4 separate regions of the Homo sapiens genome follow, and all the other regions are linked to region 1. Evidence: promoter capture Hi-C in 16 types of primary human blood cells and fetal thymus (Javierre and others, 2016). All regions are on one chromosome and are shown on one strand. The core of a region is centred on a gene start or on the middle of the fragment in contact, and the rest is flanking DNA. Distances in the headings are between cores, read along the strand shown. Region 1 holds the start of LIME1 (Lck interacting transmembrane adaptor 1). Region 2 overlaps DNAJC5 (DnaJ heat shock protein family (Hsp40) member C5). Region 3 has its middle 4.4 kb from the start of HELZ2. Region 4 overlaps GMEB2 (glucocorticoid modulatory element binding protein 2).

Region 1 (3,306 bases), core at 749-3,248:
GGTCTGTGGTGGGTCCTGGGTCCCTCCTTTTAGGCTTGCAGACCCTGGAGTACAGGACGTCCACCTGGAGACAGGAAGCCAACCCGAGGAGGGGTCAGCACCATCCAACCTGCTGAGGATCTGCCGGCCCCACCCACAGCGCCCTACCCTGGCCCACGTTACCTGAGCGGCCGGGGTCACCTCAGTCTTCCCCTGCTGTGGCTCTTGGGGACTGCGATGGGTCCCTTTGCGCTTCTGGACGCGGGCATACTCGGCCACCACAGGGCTGGCCGCCAGGCTGACCCCGGGAAGGGCCGCCAGCCCCACGTTGGAATAGGTGGCCTCGAGGCCAGCGCACCCTGCGGTGGCTGCAGCTGCCGGCAGAGCCCGGGGCAGCTCCTGGTGTGGGAAGGCAGAGGGGGCTGCCTGCGGTCCGGTGATGTCCCTGGACACCTCCAGCCAGTGTGGGCGCAGGAGATCCATGCTGGCAGGCCGCAGGGCTGGGGGTGGGGTCAGGGCAGAGTTCACTCCGGGCAGGGGGCAGGAGCGGGTCTGGCCCAGGGGTTGGCACGCGCTGCACAGTAAGCCCCGCCCGGCCGCCCCCGCCCCGCCCTCTGCTCACCCCTGCTGCTGCGCGGGCCCCGGTGCAGCTCGTGCAGTCTGGTGTCCGACTTGCTGAGGGAGCAGAGGTGGGTCCGCCTCAGTAGGGACTGGGGGCGAGGAAGGCTGGTCGGTGCCCTGCGGACCCCACCCTGGTCCCCGGGACAGCCTGGCACTCACCGCTTCCGCCGCCGTCGCACTGCCCTGCAGCCTCGCCCGCTGCCTCCGCGCCCTCTTCCTGGGGGCTACAGCGTCCTCGGGCCTTGGGGGTAGAGGTGGGGGGCGGGGGGCGGGGTCGTCAGCCTCGGGTCCAAGGCCCGGTGCAGGCGCGCGTGCCGAGCTGGGTGCGCGGACCTGCCTCCAGCCCCTTCCCGCGCTGGGCTGTGAATGGCAGCCGCAGCGAGGCCCCAGACAGAACGCGGCTGAGGGACCTACCTGCGGCAGGCTGTGCACAGCGCCCACAGCGAGAGGAGCAGGGCGCAGCACCCTAGAACCCAGAGGGCAGGAGGGGCCCAGGACACTGGCAGCCCCATCCTGTGAAGCCGAGGCCCTGGGGACAGAAGAAAGGGGCGCTGGGGGCTGGCCAAGGGGACCTGGCGCCACCTGGCAGCCCCAAATCTGCACCTCCCGCGGCTGCGGGGCTCCTGCGTCTCCCGTTCCAGCTCTGACTCAGCACAGGAAGCCCCAAGGCCTGGCAGTCCCTCCCTCCCAGAGGTGCCCACCTTCTGGCGGGGGCTCCCGGTGAGGTGAACTAGGGCTGCTCTGCCTGGCCCCTCCGTGTCCCTGCGGGTGACCACGGTAACACCCAGCACGGCCGTGAGGAGGGGCAAGACAGCTGTGGCCACCATAGCCCAGATAGTAACCAGCATCGGGGGAGCCCCTGGGTGTGCGCCACAGGCCACAGACTCCACCTGCAGCCACCCTCTGCCCAGACATGGTCTCCTGTGTCAGGTAGTGCCCCCAAGCCGCTCGCTGCGGAGCCCAGAACTGGGAAGAGCTGGAGGCTGGTCAGCAGGAGGGACCCTGCACCCGGAGGAGCTGGAGGCTGGGTCAGCAGGCAGCAGCAGCTGCTGGGGGTGCTGATGCCCCCACCCCACTTCTCTCTGGCTCTTCTTGTCTGCCAGTGTCTCTGCCAGAGAGGATCTGTCCCCTTCTTGGGGATCTTAGCAGAACTTCTCGGGGTGGGGGATGCCTTACAAACAGCACAGTCCAGCAGCAGAGACAGAAGCTGGGGGGTGAGGGGTGGTCTCTGGAGTTTGGGGCCAGTCTGCTCAGACCCAGGGAGTGGGCTTCAGCCTGGCTGACTGACCCAGCTGCAGCCACATCCCAAGGCCTCCCAGACCCCAGCTGCCCCCCAGGAGGGCACTTACCAAGCCCACGGCCAGGGGTCCTCAGCTCTGTCTGGGGCAGGCCAGGAAGGTCTTTGTGCAGCCCTCGGCTGAGCTCCCCACCTCATCACTTCCTGCTCCTGTCGCCAAGCGCCTCCCCTGAGCCTCCCACCCTGGGCAGCAGCCACCACCGCAGCCTCACCCACCTGCTGCGCCCCGCCCGAAGCCTAGATGAAACGTGTGCGCCTCTAGCCCGCACTGTTCTGACAGCCTAACTCACAACCCCTCCACACACGAAGACGTGAGCAGAGCTGGCACAGAACCCCCAAACCCACAGGGCCAGGTCCGCCTGCCTCACCAAGAGTGCCCCACGTGGTGGGCCACAGTCCTCTCCCGCCCGTCTCGCCCGCTGGAGCAGCACTGAGCTCCACCCATCTGTGGGTGTCAGGCAGCCTGGCGGGCACCCTGGCCTCCGATCTGCCTTGGTCAGAGAAGGGTAAGAAGGGAGAATGCCGGCCTCCTAGGCCCCTCCAGCCCAGCCCGTCTCTCACCACAGCCCTGCACAGACCCTTCTCTCCCCAGAGACCCTGCAGCCAGCTGATCTCCACTGAATGACACTGTGATGAAATCACTTTAATGTCCTTGCCAAGGAAATGCCCAAGACACTGGCAGGTGGGCAAGTAAGTGTCCAGATGGGACCCCGCAGCTCTGTCTCCACTCAGCAGTGTCTGCACGCCCCAGGCCAGCAGGCCGGCCCCTCCTCGGGCAACACTGGTCTTCCTGAGGGCAGCCCGTGCTGGGGTCCCACGCTTCGTCCATAGTGCTTGTGGGGTCTCTAGAACTCAGTCATCTTCTTGTGGGTGTCTGCCTTCCTCTGCTCCTGCTGCAGGCCGGCTTCCTGAGCCCGGAGCTGCCCCAGCTGGCGCTGGGCTCCTGCCAGCTTCTCCTGCAGCTGGGCTGACGCCACGCTATGCCTGCGGAGGGGCTCACTAGTCAGCGTGGGGTCCTGGGCCATGCCACCAACCCCAGTCTGCCGTACCCACTGCCTGTGTGCCCGCTGCCCGTCCTCCAACATGCAGACCCCTCCTGGACTCAGCCCGCTATGCTTGGGTCAGGTGACCTCCAGCATGTATCCCGGGGGCAGGGCCACCCTGGGTCGCCCTTTGCCCTGAGCTGGGCCCCACACGTACCGGCCAGCGTTGCGGGCGAGAGCCTCCTGGATGCTCCTGATGTCCCGCTGGGTTCGCTCGATCTTCTCCTCAGTCTGGAAGAGCCGCAGGCTCAGGGCCCGCTTGGCACTCTTGCTGGCATGGTACATGTCCTTGCTCCTCCTCCCCGCTGGGGCCGCCCCGGCTTCTAGGGCCCCAGGAGCCTGACCTTGCAGCTTTTCATTGAGGAA
Region 2 (3,306 bases), core at 287-2,786, 200 kb before region 1:
GCGACCAGGCCGGGTGGGCGCTGGTCCCCACGTGGGGGGCCCATCTGCGGGTGCAGCGCTCCCGCCACTCGCCCGCCCCACCGGTCCCGATTGGCCACGCCCCTGCCCAGCCCCCGCTCCGCCTGGTAGGCCAGGTCCCGCTGGGCCCCACCGAGTGACCACGCCCCTGAGCCGGCCCCGCCCCCGCGCTGGCCCCGCCCCCCACCCGACCCTGAGCAGCGGGGCTGGCGCTAGAAGTGGTCCCTTCCTGGCGTTCCTCGGTCACGGAGAGCGGGGCGCAAGGAAGGCATAGCCGGGGGGAGCGGGGAGGGTGGTCCGACCCCGTCTTGGAGACGGAGGAGATTCCTGGGGCGCTGGGCGGACGGAGAGTTTTGCCGCAGCGCCTGTTAACCGCGGTCCCCTGGACCAGGAGAAACAGGGCCGACAACCCTCCCTGGCAAGGGTCTTGCTGCCCGCCACCCAGTGTCCAGTGCTCGGCTTGCTGTTAACATTTCTCTGTAAGAATCCCATATATAAAATACTTAACATAGGCCGGGCGCGCTGCCTCACACCTGTAATCCCAGCACTTTGGGAGGCCTACATAGGTTCGAGACCAGCCTGGCCAACATGGTGAAACCCCCGTCTCTACTAAAAATACAAAAAATTAGCTGGGCGTGGTGGCGCGCCTTTAGTCCCAGCTACTCGGGAGGCTGAGGTACAAGAATCGCTTGAACGCAGGAGGCGGAAGCTGCAGTGAACCGAGATCGCGCCATTGCACACCAGCCTGGATGACAGAGCAAGACTCTGTCTCAAAGGAAAAAGAAAAAAAAAACTGAACTTAATAAACGTGGATTCTACTTAATTAAGAAAATTCAAAGACCAAGCCAGAAAAAAACGTCTGACAACGCTAAGGCTAGAAGGGGCAGCGAGAAGATGGGGAGCCTCTTTGCAGGGCAGTGTGGGGCCACCAGTCAAGGGAAGGCTTCCAGATCCCGCTCCCAGCGATCCCACCCGAGACAACTCAGCAGCGACATTCAGGCAGCTTTGTTTCCACAGTGAGAAACTAAAAACCTGTGGTCAGTTTGCCCAGGACCGACTGTGATTAATTCGTGACTGTTCTGTACAGAAGCTAAAATGAACCAGACCTAATATAACCACACGGCTTGATTTCTTAACTACTACTGTATCAAATGAAAAACTTAGGCCTGGTGCAGTGGCTCACGCCTGTAATCCCAGCACCCTGGGAGGCCGAGGCGGGCGGATTACCTGAGGTCCGGAGTTCAAGATCAGGCTGGCCAACATGGTGAAACCCCGTCTACTAAATACAAAAAGTTAGCCAGGCGTGGTGGCACATGCCTGTAATCCCAGCTACTCAGGAGGCTGAGGCACAAGAATCACTTCAACCCAGGAGATGAAGGTTGTAGTGAGCCGAGATTGTGCCACTGCACTCCAGCCTGGGCCACAAAGACTCCGTCTCAAAAACAAAAACAGGCCGGGCGCGGTGGCTCATGCCTGTAATCCCAGCACTTTGGGAGGCCGAGGTGGGCAGATCACAAGGTCAGGAGATCCGAGACCATCCTGGCTAACACGGTGAAACCCCATCTCCACTAAAAATACAAAAAATTAGCCAGGCGTGGTGGCGGGCGCCTGTAGTCCCAGCTACTCGGGAGGGTGAGGCATGCGTTTTCCTAAATGGCGTGAACCCAGGAGGCGGAGGTTGCAGTGAGCCAAGATCGCGCCACTGCACTCCAGCCTGGGTGACAGAGCGAGACTCCATCTCAAAAAAAAAAAAAACAAACAAACTCATAAGGCAGGTGGTGTACTCAGTACTATGGTGTAGTACAATTTATGTAAAAAGGTATAAACCAATAGTACGTCTTACTGGACCTGACAGTGGTAGACAGAGTTTAAAGCTATGGAAGCAGAGGATGGAAATGGGGAGAGACGCAAAACGGTCTTGGATGCTGCCATTTTTTTAAAATGGAAAATCTGACTCAAATTTTTTTTTTTTTTTGAGACGGAGTCTCGCTCTCCCACCCAGGCTGGAGAGCGGTGGCACGATCTCGGTGCGTTGCAACCTCCACCTCCCGGGTTCTAGCGATTCTCCTGCCTAAGCCTCTTGAGTAGCTGGGACTACAGGCACGCACCACCACGCTCAGCTAATTTTTTTTGTATTTTCAGTAAAGACGGGGTTTCACCATGTTGGCCAGGATGGTCTCAGATCTCCTGACCTCATGATCCACCCACCTCGGCCTCCCAAAGTGCTGGGGATTACAAGCGTGAGCCACCATGCCTGGCCCTTCCTTCGTTTTTCTTAAGTCAGAATAGAGGATTTCAAGATGTTTGTTACGTTATTCTGAGTTTTTGTTAGTTTGTTGACAGGATCTCCCTCTGTCACCCAGGCTGGAGTTCGGTGGTGTGACCACAGCTCACTGTAGCGTGGACTTCCCATGCTCAAGTGATTTCCCTCCTGACGAGCTGGGACCTCAGGCACGGCTACACCCAGATAATTTTAAACTCTTTTTTGTAGAGACACGATCTCACTGTTGCCCAGGTTGGTCTTGAACTCCTGGGCTCAAAGCAATCCTCCCACACTGGCCTCCCAAAGTGCTGGGATTATAGGCATGAGCCACCACGCTTGGCCTCTTTGCTCCAGTCTTGGTATTTAGAAAACGGAGGTGAAAACACAATCAAGAGGAGGGGGCATTTATCCACATCTGGACCAGGCAGGAGGGAAGCAAGGTTCCAGCCGCAAGGGGTGTGGAGGGCTGAGATCAGCTGCTGCTCTCCAAAACCAGGGATCTGCGGGACTAGCGAGTAAGACATACGTGGGGTCCGCAGTGAAAACATTTATTTTACAACAGTAATCTTTATTTTAGGCCAACATTCAGACATACAAGACGGAGATCACCATGCGGAACCAGCCTGGCCCTTAGATGTGTGTGCTCGAGCCAGGATCAGCCGGAGTCTGACAGCGCCTGCACCCCAACACGGTCGGATTCCAGGACGCCAGTGACAAAACCAGTGCATGGACAAGCAGCTTCCATGCGTGTGCATTTGATTTTTAAAAACAATACATATTTCAGTGTTAACTTCCCCCCTCACCTGGCTTGAAACATTTTCCCCATTTTCCAGGGAAACAAACTCTACCAAAAGGTGCCGCCTGCAGGACCCCGGGCCCAGCCCCTTCTGGAGGTGGTGCTGTGTGGACTCCTCTGGGGCGGACCCGGGGCCAGCACAGGGCCCCTTCCCAGGCCGCCCTTCAGATGCAGCTTTGCCACTGACCGTATCTGCTGCTCAGAAAATCAGCTTTCATGTTTCAAGGCA
Region 3 (3,306 bases), core at 267-2,766, 160 kb after region 1:
TTGTTGTCAACCTGGAGACACCATCAATTCATAGACGTTGTTGTCTACCTGGAGACATTATTGTTAACCTGGAGACACCATCTATTCATAGGCATTGTTGTCAACCTGGAGACACCGTCTATTCATAGACATTGTTGTTAACCTGGAAACATTGTTGTCAACCTGGAGACACCATCAATTCATAGACATTGTTGTCTACCTGGAGACACCGTCTTTTCATAGACATTGTTGTTAACCTGGAGACATTGTTGTCTACCTGGAGACACTGTTGTCAACCTGGAGACACCATCAATTCATAGACATTGTTGTCAACCTGGAGACACCATCAATTCATAGACATTGTTGTCTACCTGGAGACATTGTTGTTAACCTGGAGACATTGTTGTTAACCTGGAGACACCGTCAATTCATAGACGTTGTTGTCTACCTGGAGACACCATCTAGCTGGAGACGCCATCTGTCCTTAGACATCCTCATCTACCTGGAGATGTCCACACAAGGCTGCTGCCCACTCCCCATGCCAATCTCAAGCCCCGGGTGCTTCAGACCAATTGGCTATAAATTGAGGTTCCTAACCCCCATATTTGGGTCAGATTAATTTCCTAGAGCAGCTCACAGAACTCAGGGAAACATGTTTACCCATTTATTATAAAGGACGTTACAAAGGACGCAGATGAAGAGATGCGTAAGGGGAGGGGCGCAGAGCTTTCACCCCACAAGGGCACCCCGTCCAGGAACCTCCACGGCTCTCTGAGCCCTGTCCTTTTGCGACTTCATGGAGGCTTCATTACCCAGGCATGATTGATTACGTCACTGGCCACTGGTGAGGACCGCCTTCAGCCGCCTCTCCCCTCCCCTGCCTGGAGGTTGGGGCAAGGCTGCAAGTACCACCCTCTACTCCTGCTGAGGCCTTTCTGAGGACCAGCCCCATCCTGAGGCTGCCTCCAGGCTGCCAGCCTTCGGTCAATATCAGCACAAAAAGGCACTTGCCACTTTGGCTACTCCAGGGATTTTAGGGGTTTTTGCCAGGAAACGGGACGAGACCAAATATGTTAATGTATATTTCACAATGTCACACGCACATGGCTGTGTGTGCAGAGGCCAGGCAGGGAGAGAGGACAGAGCAGCTGGGAGGCCCCGGGGGGCGTAGACCCATCCTGGGACTAAACCCCCATCAGATCCTTCTGGCACCCCTGCAAGGAGAAGGTGTGGTCCCCCTGACTTTCTCCCCAGGGGCTCATCTCGAAGGAGGCCTCCCGGCTGCACGGCTCCCACAAGGCCAAGAGGAGGAGATCTGAAATCGGCTCCACTCCCTCCCACTGCAGACCCTATCACCTCCTCCACTAGGGGTGTGAGCTTTTGGCTGGTGGGAGGGCGCCCGGGAGGGTCTCTGGAAAGATGGGAACCGGGTGTTAAAGACCTGCTTAAGCGAGTTATACCCAGAGGCCGTCAGTTCCTGCCCGAGAGCACATGGCCCACAGTCACAGGTAAACTGAGGCCTGGCCCTAAGCCCTGGGGACCTCCACCTGCTTCGTGACGCTGGGGACAGTGTGTACGTTTTCCTGCAGGGTTCAGGTGATGGCAGACGGCAGAGGGCAGCAGACGGCAGGCTGGCACTGGGGGGCCATGGAACCCACTGGCAGGGACGCTGGGTGAGGAGGACCTAGGGACCGGGATGAGACAAGCTGAGGGTGTTGGGCAGACATTTCTTACTTTGTATTTTGATATAATAATTTAAACAAACGTACACAAATGTTGCAAAAATAGAACAAAGGACTCCCTGTGCTCTATGCGGACTCACCAGTCGCTTTGTTCTGGCCCATTTGCCGGTTCTGTAGAAGCCTGTAGTTCCAGGCAATTGAGACTAAGACACGATACCCCTTCACCTTTCAGATACGATACCCCTTCACCCTTCACCCTTCACCCTTTACCCCATCACTTCAAGGTGTGTTTCCTCAGAACGTGGAAGCTGTCTGTTACAAAGTCAGGAAGCTGACGTGGATACAATAATATTACTAATACTCAGCCCGTGTGAGCGTGTTGTTGGCCGTGTGCTGTGTGTACGTGGAACTCTCTCCCGTGGTCTCACACTCAGCCCGTGTGAGCGTGTTGTTGGCCGTGTGCTGTGTGTACGTGGAACTCTGTCCCGTGGTCTCACACTCAGCCCGTGTGAGCGTGTTGTTGGCCGTGTGCTGTGTGTACGTGGAACTCTGTCCCGTGGTGTCACACTCAGCCCGTGTGAGCGTGTTGGCCGTGTGCTGTGTGTACGTGGAACTCTCTCCCGTGGTCTCACACTCAGCCCGTGTTAGGGGTCACTGTGGCCTGAGCACAGCTGGACGGGAGCCAGAGAGCTGTCCACGGCAACCTGCAGGTTTTCAATGCTCTGTGGACTCGAGGTGGCACTTTTTGTTTTTGTTTTGAGTTAAGAAGACGTGCACAGATGTGAAAGGTGGGCGGAAACAGGACATCTCCCTCCTGTCCTGGCCGCACAGTCCTGATCTGTCTCCCAGGCTGGAGTGCACTGGCACCATCACAGCTTACTGAGGTCTTGAACTCCTGGGCTCAAGTGATCCTCCCGCCTCAGCCTACCAAATTGCTGGGATCACAGGTGTGAGCCACCGTGCCTGGCCAACCTCATTTTTAATGGCCTTAGAGTCTTCCATGGCACAGGGTGGAGACTGCCCATTACATAGACCCTGAGCGAGGGGCCCTGGGCATTCCCGGTCCATTGGGTGTAGAAGGAGCTGCCGGGAGCTGTTGGTGGGCACAGATGTCCCTCTGTGCAGGAGCCTCTGTGGAGCCACGTGGAAGGCGCGTGTCCTGTGCTCCCGGGCCTGGCTGGTTTCCAGAGCGGTGCTGCCAGTTTAGACTCTGGCCGAGTGCCTGCAATGTCAGAGGGGTGGACGGGTTGTCTGGGGCTGGTTTGCGTTTCCCTTACGCCGAGGTTGAACACTTCACTCCATTTACAGCAATTTCACTTTCCACGTTTTGTGAAGTATTGATTTGCATCCTTTGCCTATTTTTCTTTTAAATTATACATCTTTTTCTTAATTTATAAGATCTTTAAAATATTAGAGAGATCAGGGCCAGGCGCGGTGGCTCACGCCTGTAATCTCAGCACTTTGGGAGGCCGAGGTGGGTGGATCACGAGGTCAGGAGATCGAGACCATCCTAGCTAACACGGTGAAACCCCGTCTCTACTAAAAATGCAAAAAATTAGCCAGGCGTGGTGGTGGGCGCCTGTAGTCCCAGCTACTTGGGAGACTGAGGCAGGAGAATGGCGTGAACCCGGGAGGTGGAGCTTGC
Region 4 (3,306 bases), core at 233-2,732, 140 kb after region 1:
TCCACAGTCTTGGGCTGGATCCTGCATCAGAAAAAAATGTAGGCTGGGCATGGTGACTCACGCCTGTAATCCCAGCACTTTGGGAGGCCGAGGCGGGTGAATCACCTGAGGTCAGGAGTTCGAGACCAGCGCAGCCAACATGGTGAAACCCCATCTCTGCGACAAATACAAAAAAATTGGCCAGGCATGGTGGCATGTGCCTGTACTCCCAGCTACTCGGGAGGCTGAGGCAAGAGAATCTCTTGAACCCGGGAGGCGGAGGTTGCAGTGAGCCCAAGATTGCACCAGTGCACTCCAGCCTGGACGACAGAGTGAGACTCCATCTCAAAAAAAAAAATTTTTTTTTTGCAATAAAGGCTATCATTGGAACAATTCATGAATTTGACTATGGACAATGGATTAGAGAATAATGTATGAATGATAATTTCCTGATGCGAGTTGTTCTGTGGCTGCGTAAGAGAAGCTTGTTCTTAGGAAATATACACAAGTGTTGAGGGCCCAGGGGCCCGACGTCTCTGCTTCACTCTCAGTAGCTGCACGTGCACAGGTCTAGGCGGGGGCAAGGGGGCAGACGGGAGCAGGCAGTGAGTCCGGAACGCACGTGTGAGAGCTCCCTGGACTATCCTGGCAATTACCCTGTGAGTTTGAAATTGTATTAGAATTAGAAGTTGGAAACACGAAAGAAATGTACCATAGGTGACATCATAATGAAATTCCAGAAGGACGGGGACAGAGAAGATCCTCAGTCTAGCCAGGAGGAGAGACGGATCGCTCAGTAGCAAGAATCCCGCCGGCCGTGAGCTCCCGAAAGCAGCGCAGGAGCAGAGGTGGCAGCGCCAGAGCCTCACTGTGTGGCGAGTGACGACACCGTGAGGTCGTCTTTGAAATTATGCTGGAAGAAAGACGTTTCCAGAAAAAGACACGAGTTTGCCACCAGCAGATCATGATGGAAGGATGTTCTAAATATGCATTGCAGGCGGAGATAGGAGGCCTCCAGATGGAAGCGCTGTGCTGTGAGGAGGTGTGAAGAGTCGGGGAAACGTGGGTCACCCGACCAGTCCTGTCTATTCAGCATCGAGAGAGACGCCCTGGAGGGCCTCAGAGATGAGAGCAGGGCCACGTGGCTGTGGTCTGGAGGGTCAGGAGCGGGCCGAGTTAGCTCCGGGGGGTCAGGAGCGGCCACGTTAGCTCCGGGGGGTCAGGAGCGGGCCGCGTTAGCGCTGGAGGGTCAGGAGCGGCTGCGTTAGCTCTGGGGGGTCAGGAGTGGCCGCGTTAGCTCTGGGCTCTGGCAGCTCTGGTAAGCGTGACATGCTGAAGCTCCTGGAGCCACTCATGAGAGTACAGCATGTAGCTTCCTAGCTGGGAGAGGAAAACCTGGGGTGAGAAGAGTAACAAAGGTGAAAGCAAGAAAGGAAAGAGGCAGGCCTAGGAGGGGCAGGGAGGTGAGGCTGGCTGAGCCCAGAGCCCTAGGTAGGATCAGGCCCTTTGGGTGCAGTTGAGTTTCCTAGGTGTGAGCCACGTTGGGTAGAAGTGATGGCCGGAAGCAGCCTCAGTCACAGCCAGTGCAGCCTTCCTGCCAGGCTCCGACAGTGGCCAGAGAATCTTCTGGATTCCACCTTCTGGACTTCTATGGGATCTCCCTGATCAGCCGCATGAGGGAGAGCCAGAGACTGGCTGGGCTTAGTGTTCCCGTCTGTGGCACAGGGGTCATGAGAGGGTGGGCTCAGGGATTGGGAACATCACTTCCTTCAGCAAGCTAGACTTGGGCACGGCCCGGGGGTGGAGGCGGCCCCCGTACTCGGGCCTCCTGGGTCCAGCTGCAGAGACCTCGTGACTCCTCCATCCCCAGCCTGCTTGTTTTCTAAGTAAATGCAGTTTTATTCCAGTTTTTGGTTTCAATAATTGCTTGTGTAACAAGATTGAACAGGATATTTTACCTTCTCAGTTTCTCTGAGCTCCCACATGGGTGAAATTAGCAAGCAGGAGGGTTCCCCTGGCTTAGAAACAGATGAGTGTGTGTGTGTGTGTGTGTGTGTGTGTGTCAGAGTGAGAGCAGGTGCCGGTGTTTGCTGCACGGGGCAAGGTGGTGTCAGGAGGGACCTGAGGAAGGTGGCGTTCACAGCTCCACCCATGTGCTGGCATCTGTTGCCATCTGCGATGTAACGTATGCAATAACGTGTATTTATAAAATACATTGCACAGAAGCAGTTTGCTTAGTCTGCCTGGAGGAAGAGAAGGCCACACACCTTCTACCTGGTGTGGTCAGCCCAGCCCTGTCTAGCCCCAGGCACACAGCAGCTCTGCCCCCTCAGGGCTGGAGGAGACACCACTCCCCACTGCAGCCACCGTGCCTGTGGGTCATGTCCTTGTTTTACCTGAATGCTCTGTAGGAGGCCTGCACCGGTCAGAGCCGTGCCGTGGCGCTTTTCCTGCCTTGCGCGCCTGACTCAGGGTCGGATGGGAGATGGGGGCACCCTATGTGGTGTCCCGGCCAAGCTTGACCCACATGACTGTGTCCCCCACAGTACGACGAGCATGTAATCAGCCCAAAGGAATTTGTGCACCTGGCCGGGAAGTCCACCCTGAAGGACTGGAAGAGAGCCATCCGCATGAACGGCATCATGCTCAGGTGGGCGCTGGCGCAGGGTCAGCCTCCCTGCTGGAAGGGGCCCTGGCAGCTCTTGCTTTCTTGTGGGGTTTTGGGATTTTGAAGATGAGGCGTATTTTAGATGTGGTGAGTGCTGACAACCTCCCGGGTGGCTGCTGCACCTGCTCACACCCAAAACTGTAAACCCGTCTCCCACACTCCTGCCAACAGGGACACTATCAGATTTTTAGAATTGTTTTGTCAGTCATTTTAATTTCCACCAATTCTTTACCTGAAGGCACTTGTGACTGTTTCAGCGTTGTAAAATAAAGGGTTGGCTGGGCACATGGCTCACACCTGCAATCCCAACACTTTAGGAGGCTGAGGCAGGAGGATCACTTGACGCCAAGAGTTTGAGACCAGCCTGGGCACAATAATGAGACCTCATCTCTACTAAAAATAAAAAAAAAATTATCTGGATTTGGTGACATATGCCTGTGGTCCCAGCTGCTCGAGAGGCTAAGGTGGAAGGATCACTGGAGCCTGGAAGTCAAGGCTGCAGTGAGCTGTGATTGTGCCACTGCAATACAGCTTGGGTTACAGAGTGAGACTCTGTCTCAAAAAAAAAAAAAAACAAGAATAAAAAGGAAAAGAAAAGGGTCTGTTCCAATTATGCATTCTGAAAATAAAAAATAAAAGAAAGGTATAATCTGGTATTT

What was found. The method cuts DNA at HindIII sites, captures the fragments that hold promoters and counts their contacts. A CHiCAGO score of 5 or more calls a contact.
Region 2: a fragment that was not itself captured here is called in contact with the fragment with the promoter of LIME1 in region 1 in 1 of 17 cell types (monocytes); the score reaches 6.0 in monocytes.
Region 3: a contact is called between a fragment that was not itself captured here and the fragment with the promoter of LIME1 in region 1, in 5 of 17 cell types (naive CD4 T cells, M2 macrophages, monocytes and 2 more). The highest score is 7.4, in naive CD4 T cells.
Region 4: a contact is called between a fragment that was not itself captured here and the fragment with the promoter of LIME1 in region 1, in 1 of 17 cell types (monocytes). The highest score is 5.9, in monocytes.

What each region holds. Positions count from the first base shown.
Region 1 is chr20:63,735,356-63,738,661 of GRCh38, reverse strand. It overlaps LIME1 (Lck interacting transmembrane adaptor 1), which reads right to left and starts at 1,998. Exons shown (of 6, transcript NM_017806.4): 1 at 1,950-1,998; 2 at 1,015-1,129; 3 at 760-841; 4 at 602-689; 5 at 163-479; 6 at 1-64. The coding sequence starts at 1,112. It overlaps ZGPAT (zinc finger CCCH-type and G-patch domain containing), which reads right to left. Exons shown (of 7, transcript NM_181485.3): 6 at 3,098-3,306; 7 at 2,520-2,881. The coding sequence ends at 2,743. RefSeq lists silencers at 383-442, 523-672, 743-962 and enhancers at 103-697, 897-1,813, 2,393-2,572. The HindIII fragment of the contact is 14,127 bases long and covers 1-3,306 here.
Region 2 is chr20:63,935,534-63,938,839 of GRCh38, reverse strand. It overlaps DNAJC5 (DnaJ heat shock protein family (Hsp40) member C5), which reads right to left. Exons shown (of 5, transcript NM_025219.3): 5 at 2,829-3,306. Among named protein-coding and RNA genes, the nearest start is that of MIR1914, 4.4 kb to the left of the region's middle. The HindIII fragment of the contact is 5,075 bases long and covers 1-3,306 here.
Region 3 is chr20:63,577,013-63,580,318 of GRCh38, reverse strand. No RefSeq gene overlaps it. Among named protein-coding and RNA genes, the nearest start is that of HELZ2, 4.4 kb to the right of the region's middle. The HindIII fragment of the contact is 4,805 bases long and covers 1-3,306 here.
Region 4 is chr20:63,597,080-63,600,385 of GRCh38, reverse strand. It overlaps GMEB2 (glucocorticoid modulatory element binding protein 2), which reads left to right. Exons shown (of 10, transcript NM_012384.5): 5 at 2,526-2,629. Among named protein-coding and RNA genes, the nearest start is that of HELZ2, 24 kb to the right of the region's middle. RefSeq lists an enhancer at 2,411-2,580. The HindIII fragment of the contact is 2,033 bases long and covers 466-2,498 here.